Linked DNA regions of Homo sapiens: all the other regions are linked to region 1. Evidence: promoter capture Hi-C in human tissues and cell types (Jung and others, 2019). All regions are on one chromosome and are shown on one strand. Each heading gives the region's core, a stretch centred on a gene start or on the middle of the fragment in contact. The rest is flanking DNA. Distances are from core to core; before and after follow the strand shown.

The links. The method cuts DNA at HindIII sites, captures the fragments that hold promoters and counts their contacts. A contact is called where the count stands out against the background at its distance.
Region 2: a fragment that was not itself captured here is called in contact with the fragment with the promoter of BCAS3 in region 1 in 1 of the 25 tissues and cell types used here (heart right ventricle).
Region 3: a contact is called between a fragment that was not itself captured here and the fragment with the promoter of BCAS3 in region 1, in 1 of the 25 tissues and cell types used here (lymphoblastoid cells).

Annotation. Positions count from the first base shown.
Region 1 is chr17:60,676,511-60,679,342 of GRCh38, forward strand. BCAS3 (BCAS3 microtubule associated cell migration factor) reads left to right here and starts at 1,341. Exons shown (of 24, transcript NM_017679.5): 1 at 1,341-1,404. RefSeq lists a silencer at 721-1,474 and enhancers at 893-1,062, 1,233-1,382. The HindIII fragment of the contact is 19,476 bases long and covers 1-2,832 here.
Region 2 is chr17:62,073,785-62,076,616 of GRCh38, forward strand. No RefSeq gene overlaps it. Among named protein-coding and RNA genes, the nearest start is that of MED13, 9.9 kb to the left of the region's middle. The HindIII fragment of the contact is 7,334 bases long and covers 1-2,832 here.
Region 3 is chr17:62,050,553-62,053,384 of GRCh38, forward strand. It overlaps MED13 (mediator complex subunit 13), which reads right to left. Exons shown (of 30, transcript NM_005121.3): 3 at 1,985-2,153. Among named protein-coding and RNA genes, the nearest start is that of MED13, 13 kb to the right of the region's middle. The HindIII fragment of the contact is 4,493 bases long and covers 1-2,832 here.

The sequences.
Region 1 (2,832 bases), core at 91-2,590:
GCTGGTCTTGACCTCCTGACCTCAAGTGATCTGCCCCTCTCAGCCTCCCAAAGTGCTGGGATTACAGGTGTGAGCCACCGTGCCCGGCCTTTTCTTTCATTTCTTTTTTTAAAATTTTTTAAAATTTTATGTATGTATGTATGTATGTATGTATGTATGTATGTATGTATGTATCTATCTATCTATCTATCTATCTATCTATCTATCTATCTATCTGTCTTGAGAGGGACTCTCTGTCACCCAGGCTAAAGTGCTGGAGGGCAATGGCGTGATCTATAGGCTCACTGCAATCTCCGCCTCCTGGGTTCAAGCAATTCTTCCGCCTCAGCCTCCCCAGTAGCTAGGATTACAGGCATTGGCCACCACACCTGGCTATTTTTAGTAGAGACGGGGTTTCTTCATGTTGTCCAGGCTGTTCTAGAACTCCTGGCCTCAAGCGATCTTCCCGCCTAGGCTTCCCAAAATGTTGGGATTGCAGGCGTGAGCCACCACGCCCAGCCCACCACGCCTGTTAATAAGCTATACCCTCACGGACCTGTCATTGGCATTAAATTTGATAATACATTAGAGTATTGTATATGAAGTATACGAAGGCCTGTGCTGAGTGTTCAAGAAGTCAGTCAGTATTATTCTACTTATATTAATAAATGAACTGATGAAATGACAATGGCGAGATCTCGATCTTCAACAATAAGGGAGATGGAAACTGAAGCAAGAAGTGGTCTACAAACCTAGCTCAAATTGTTGAGATTACCGGCCGTGCCCCTTATTCAGATCAACCCCTCCTCGGCTGATCGCCGGCGCGAGCCAGCCTAGGCTCCCGGAAGGTAAACACATCGCCAAGGGCTGGGCAGAAGGCGGGTGTGGGACGGGTGAGTGGCCAGCTAAAAGTGATTGGCAGCTGCCATGTCCACGTGCTCCGAGCTTGGAACCAGCTGTCGCGAGAATTCGATGTAAACAGACCAGTCTCCCTGTCCTCCGGCTCCAACCTGAAACGCTCACGTGAGCGGGACAGGAGTCTGGATCATGTTGCTTTTCTTTTCAAAGCCACGAAGGTTCTGTCTTCCAAAAAAAATGTACATGTTCGTAATTATTCCCCAGCTGCCTGCGTTTGCAACCGAACCTGACACCTCGGCTTCACCCGAACTTACATGCTGTTGTGTTTTCCCTCCAGCCCCAGCGGATTGGACACATTCAGAAGGCGGGTCCGCCTCTTTCCTACTTGCTGGTTGGCGAAGCTGACCTCCAAGGGCGGTGCCCGGCCATAGCCGGTTTGCTTCTGGGATTGGCTAGAGGGGGTGGTTCCGCTGAGGCGTGGTAGGAAGTGGCTGCCGTCAATCACTCGGGGAGACTCCAAACAGTGAGCCTAGAGCTGGAGACTAGCGTTAACCGGCGGGGCGGCCGGTGAGAGGGCTGGCAGGGCTTTGGCTTTGGGGAGGCTTGGGGAGGACGAGGGACTGGCGGCGTGAGGGGACTGGGTCGGGCTGGCAGGAATTCGACAGGAGAGAGGTGTCGATACTGGAGGGGGAGGGGAACAGTGCAAGGGGCCGGAGGGCGGCCGGGGGCAGCGGTGGCTCCGTGTTGGAGGTTAAGTGGGCAGCGCCGTACGAGTGTCTTTCAGGAGACTGGGGCCTGAGTGGCTGGCGAGGGTCGTCCCCAGGAGACAGGGCCCTTAAAGGGCAGGGCTTGGGAGACTGTGGTTCGAGAAAGCAAGAATGGGATGAGAATGAGAGGGCTGAGGGGCTGGAGGTGCAGGTATCCTCTGAGGAGGTGGTGGCTCTGCTCCTTGGGGCAGAGGGTGTTTTGGTTGTAGGAGGTGGGGCGCACAGGTTTAGAGTTTTCACATCAGGTGTGAATGCTCCCTACTTAAAAATGGTTTTCGGTGCCTTCAAGATGAGTTCCAGGTTGTGGGCTTCCCTGAGCCCTGTAAGAGATCTTTGATATTGCTGTCAGTCCTCTTTTAACCTTAACCAAGCCGACTCCATGCTCTTAAAATCTCAGTGATTCAGAGGGTCATGAAACATTCTAGGATCAGGATTTACTGATGTGACGGGAAAGGGTAAAGGGCTGTAACAACGTATTAGTTTATGTTAGTTATTTGACTACTTGCTACTAGTCAAATAATTACTTGACTTATTTGTTATAGTAGCAGGGGGTTACGAATGTGATTTAAATTGTGATTTACTCATAGATTCCCAACAGGTTTAATTGGAAGGTAGAGTGATATCATGTCACTTGTTCCGTTTGGTCTTGAAATATTGTACCATGTGTATTTTCACTATCTCAACATAAAATTGCAGTAAATTCCCATCCCATGATCTGGTTCTCTCACCCTTGTAATTTATGTTAACAACAGACCAAGGGGTACAGCAGGAGTCTTCCTTACATTGTTTTGTGGTTCTGAGACCTGGTCCTATTAAAAAACAAAACAGGATGGGCGCGGTGGCTCAAGCCTATAATCCCAGCACTTTGGGAGGCTAAGGCGGATGGATTGCTTGAGCTCAGGAGTTCGAGACCAGCCTTGGCAACATGGTGAAACCCCGTCGCTACAAAAAAATATAAAATTTAGCTCGGCATGGTGGCGCTCGCCTGTAATCCCAGCTACTCAGGAGGCTGAGGCAGGAGAATTGCTTGAGCCTGGGAGGCGGAGATTGCCATGAGCAGAGATCGTGCCACTGAACTCCAGCCTGGGCGACAGAGCGAGACTCTATCTCAAAAATAATAATAACCCCCCAAACCCCTCATTATAATTTGAAAAAAATTAAAAACCTACTTCCTCCTTTTTTCCCTTTCTGGTGTAACAGGAATTTCTGGGAAAGTTTCCTACATTTG
Region 2 (2,832 bases), core at 243-2,742, 1.4 Mb after region 1:
TATATTTATCATGGCCCGAAGGTGAACTTTTTCAAATGCCTTTTCTGTATCTATTGGGACAACCATATGGTTTGTTTTTTAATACACTTATGTGGTGAATTGCAAAAAAAAAAAAAAAAATTAACCAGGTGTAGTGTCGCACACTTGTAATCCCAGCTACTCGGGAGGCTGAGGCATGAGAATCGCTGGAACCCGGGAGGTGGAGGCTGCAGTGAGCCGAGATTGCACCACAGTACTTCAGCCTGGGTGACAGAGCAAGACTCCATCTCTAAATAAATAAATAAATAGTAACATAAACAAAAGTACTAGAGTTATATAACATTTCTACCACTGGTTTTGACATTACTTCATTCATTCATTTAATAATATTTATGTTTACTATGTGCAAGGTTCTATGCTAGGTACTGTGATGATTGAGCAATATGAAACAATGCATCAGAAATAGAGCTGACTCTCAAGAAGATTTTTAATTCTCAGATGATAAGATATGAAATAAATAACTACAATTTTTATTTGAAAATGCGAAAAATTGATATAGATCAAATGTTGTGGAATTGAAAGAAGAGGGGGCTACCCCAAGTCACAAGGAAGAAAAGGTTAGTGGAGAAAAACTTTGCATTTTAAATAGATACGAATTAATGAATAAGATTGGAACTTGCAGAGATGTGGAAAAGAGCAATTTAGGCTAGTGTTTCCCAAACTGGAGTTTGAGGACAAGGTTTTGAAGAATGCTACTGGGAATTCCATGTAAAAGAGTTCTTGGCTGTGCTGTTAATTTGCCTCTGTTCTTTTTTTTTTTTTGAAACAGAGTCCTGCTCTGTCGCCCAGGCTGGAGTTCAGTGGTGTGATCTTGGCTCACTGCAACCTCTGCCTCCTGGGTTCAAGCGATTCTCATGCCTCAGCCTCCCAAGTAGCTGGGATTGCAGGTGCCCACCACCGTGCCCGGCTAATTTTTGAATGTTTGTATTTTTAGTAGAGACAAGGTTTCACCGTGTTGCCTAGGCTGGTCTTCAACTCCTGACCTCAAGTGATCTGCCTGCCCCAGCCCCTCAAAGTGCTGGGATTACAGGTGTCAGCCACCATGACTGACCTTTTTTTTTTTTGAGATAGGGTCTCATTCTGTCACCCACACTAGAGTGCAGTCTGGAGTACCGTGGTGCAAACATGGCTCACTGCAGCCTCGACCTCCTGGGTTCAAGCAATCCTCCTACCTCAGCCTCCTGAATAGCTGGGACCACAGGCGTGCACCACCATGCCCACTTAATTTTTTAAATTTTTTGTATAGACAAGGTCTCACCATGTTGTCCAGGCTTACTGTAGCTAGAGGCTGCTCCTTGGAAATGACATTTCTCAGGCTCCCTTATCAATTTCCTTGTGGTTTGGTTTGGCCAATGGAGGCAAGGGTGGCAAATGAGGGGCCATGAGGAAGCTAGGATTTTCCCTCTCCCTGTGCCTCAGTATTGGCTGTATCTTTATGGCGCGAACTGCAAATGAACAGTTCTTCTCTCCACAGTCCCAACTCTGTTGGGCAGTCCTGGCTCCTGGGGTATAGTATGTTTGTTATCTATTGCCATATAATACATTATCTCTGAACATCACAGCTTAAAACAACAAGCATTTTATCTCACACAGTTCCTGAGATTTAGTAACCTGTCAGTGACTCAGCTGGTGGTTCTGGCTCAGGGTTTCTCATGAGGTTTCAGTCAAGATGTGGGCTGGGGCTGCAGGCCTCTCAAGGCTAACGTAGGACTGAGGCACTCACTTCCAAGCTCACTCACACGGTTGTGGCCAGGACACAGTTTCCTTCTGCCAGGTGGGCTTCTCCTCAGAGCTGCACACAACAACGCAGCTTGCTTCTCCACTAGGAAGAAGAAGGGGGAGACAGAGAGAGTCCAAGACCAAGATGGAAGCTGCAGTCTTTTTGTAACCTAATCTCAGAAGTTATATACCATCACTTCTGCCACATGCTATTGGTCACAGACCAACTGTGATACAGAGTGTGCAGGGGCTACACTAGGCTGTGAATACCAGGAGGCAAAAATAACTGAGAGCTGGCCGGGCGCGCTGGCTCATGCCTGTAATCCCAGCACTTTGGGAGGCCAAGGAGGGTGGATCATTTGAGGTCAGGAGTTCAAGACCAGCCTGGCTGACATGGTGAAACCCCATCTCTACTAAAAATACAAAAATGGTGAAACCCCATCTCTCCTAAAAATACAAAAATTAGCTGGGCAGTGGTGGTGCACGCCTATAATCCCAGCTATCAGGAGACTGAGGCAGGGGAATCACTTGAGCCTGGGAGGCAGAGGTTGTGGTGAGCTGAGATCACACCACTGCACTCCAGTCTGGGTGGGTGACAGAGTGAGACCCTGTCTCAAAAAAAAAAAATAATAATAATAATAATAGGGAGCTATTTTGGAGGGTAGCTACCACAGTCCACCATCTGTCCCCAATGATTTGTTGCTCCCACATGCAAGTTACACTCACTTCTTCCCAAAGTCACCAAAAGTCTCCCCTCTTTACAGCATCAGCTTGAAGTCCAGGTGCAGATGAGGCTCCTCGGGTAAAACTCCTTAAGCAGAGCTCCTTGAGTACAGTTCCTCTCCACCTGTGACACCGAAGAGACAATTTATCTTCCCCTCTATATACCCAACATACAACGATGAGACAGGTGTAGCAGGATAGAGGCTTAGTTATTCCTTTTCAAAAAGGGGGGGAAATGGCAGGTGCCAAGGAGTAACTGGCCCATTTTAATTCTGAAATACCACCCCACCACCCATGTAGGTCTGTGAATCTTACTGGGGTTCACTTCATTAGACAAAAGTTATACCCACA
Region 3 (2,832 bases), core at 126-2,625, 1.4 Mb after region 1:
ATGTTATGTCTTTCAAAATTTTTAAACAGGTAACTTAAAAGAAACAGAAGAATTAAAAAGGGCTGCTTCTGAGGAGCAAATCTATTCATTGGGGCTCAGGATTGCAGCCTTTCATTTTAAATCTTGGTAATCTGTTTGACTTCTTAAAACTACATAAATCTATATGCCTGGCTGGGAGCAGTGGCTCACGCCTGTAATCCCAGCACTTTAGGAGGCCGAGGCGGGTGGATTGCCTGAGCTCAGGAGTTCAAGACAAGCCTGGGCAACATGGCAAAACCCCGTTTCTACTAAAAATACACAAAATTAGCCAGGTGTGGTGGCACACGCCTATAATCCCAGCTACTTGGGAGACTGAGGCAGGAGAATCACTTGAACCTGGGAAGCAGAGGTTGCAGTGAGCTGAGATTGCACCACTGCACTCCAGCCTGGGCAACAGAGTGAGACTTTGTCTCAAAATAAATAAATAAATGTATATGGCAGATATTGTTAACTGCCTACCCAATATCCATTTCCACTTCTTTGATCTTTGGTATCTATCTAATATCTATCAGCCCTTTCTTCTTACTAACAAAAACTTCATTTGTTCAGAGCAGCTGTTTCCAAATAAAAGATATTTGTTTCTCTTAGTATGGCCAAAGATATGTCAACTAAAGTTTCCAGAAAATAATTTACTTTCTGACTCAGGTGCCACACCTTCCTTACTTCCTCCCTTCCTTTCTCTTCCTGCCTGGAATCCACTGTGAGGTCTGGAGGTGCAACACACGGGAGGACCATGAAGATGTAAAAATGGCACAGAGAAAACTCTGGGGAACTTTGAATCCTTGATGACATTATTGAACAGCTATACCAGTACTAAACTATCGACCTCCATACTGCTTGCTACTGAGAAAAATCAATCCCTACATAAGCCAAGTAGTTAATGTTGTTCTGTCATTTCCAGCTGAATGCATTCTGAACTTACACAAGTATTTTGTTAACAATAAAGGTTTACGTTAATTTTCAAAGAGGAAAAAAAATGAAAGCACCTTTATTTATCCAGGCTTATCTACTCATCCAGTCTTACTAAAACTAAAAAGTTTGAAAAAACAAACAAACAAAAACTCCAGGTGCACATGAAAAAAGATGTGCATATATGACATCAAAGACCTCAAAATGATTACAATCTCAACCAAATGTTCACTTCACATCCTCTCACATCTTTCAGGAAAAATTAGTAAGTTCCCTTTAGTTTTCTCTTCCCCACATCCCAACTTACTTGCCACTGGTTCATCTCTCTTGAAGTCTCACTAACTCAATGACTGCTGGGAACTTAAATCTTTTGAGAGACTATGCCTTATATTATCTAAATCACGGAGAAGCGAGTAACCTGAAGGTTTTAATTGCATAGGAGAAGGAGGTATCTATCATAAGTCTTCTGTGCCTCTATCTGCAACTAGTCTAATAAGTAGTGTCATAAATTTGCTTAATTCATTGCTCAAGAAAATTATAAGCTCTCAAAGAGTAAATGGTCTTATATAGAAAACACAAATTTAAATTACTTTAATTAAAGGGAATTGAGAGATTGGGAATAAGAAGGGTTAACTTGATCCAAAACATACTCACAGATCACTATCCTTAACAGGTGTTGTTACTTAATTTTAATATCAGAGTGCTGTGCATATATTTCCACAAATACTAAAAAAAAGATACTTCCAAGCCTAAGTCTCTGCTTTCATCCCACATTAAGTCTATCATCACAAATCAAAATTTAGGCCACTGTATTAAAATACAGCCTATTCCTACAGTAAGAAAATGCTTAAAGTGTATAAAGGGAAGTTTGTAAAGTGGTTTAAAAAAAAAAAAAACCTGACTGTATCTAGTACTCTGTCACTGACAACCTCTGGAATATGTCTGTATATTAGCTTGTTTTATCCCACATTCTCTGTTAAGACACAAAAAGGAACAAATCTAAAGAAATATCACGTCAGAATTTAAGATAGCTTACCTTTTATTTATAGGTTTTTCATCTTTTTCATAAGGCTTTACAAACCACTTGCCAATACGTACAAAATTCCTGTTCATTAAACACCGTTCCAATAGATTGTGAACTGCTTTGAAAAGCAGAGTACGGCATTCATAGGAAAGTCCATTCTCCCACACTCCATCTTCTTCTTCTAAAAGAGAAATGAAGGAAATAATAAAATAGTGACACTATAATCTATTCAGAGCCAAGTAAAAAAGGTTACAGTTTAAACTCTATATTCATCAACACTAGCTTACCCCAGAATATTAAGCTACAATCACTTCAATGTATCTCTAGACATTATCAGGTTTCAAAGTTACTCCACAAGGAATAAAAGGTCTAAGTGCCACATATTCTATTAAATTACCTGAAAAGTATTTTTCCACCTTATAAAATTCAATGACATCATGAACATACTGAATTGGTTCCTGTATTAATGAAAAGGACACTTGTTTGTATAACCTGGAAAATATTAAACACACTCTACACCTATGATGCCAATTTCTAAGCTGGCTCACTTGTTACTTTGTCCTAATTCCCCTAGTCATTCAACCTGCCAAAAAAACTAGCCAGTTAATAATTAAAGTCAAAACATTTCATGTCCATCAGCATTCTAATCCACGACTCCACTACAACACTAAGTGATGAATAAAAAGGAAGCTGTTGGCACAGAGCCTAACAAGCGGTGCACTATCAGCCACCTTAGGTCTCATTTCAAACAAATTATTCCCATGATTATTATTCAGTACAGGACCCTTTACTTGGGGGAGAAATTTAAAAATTTAAAGACTTAAATTGTAAATGGCACTTCTGTCAAATAAAATTATAGC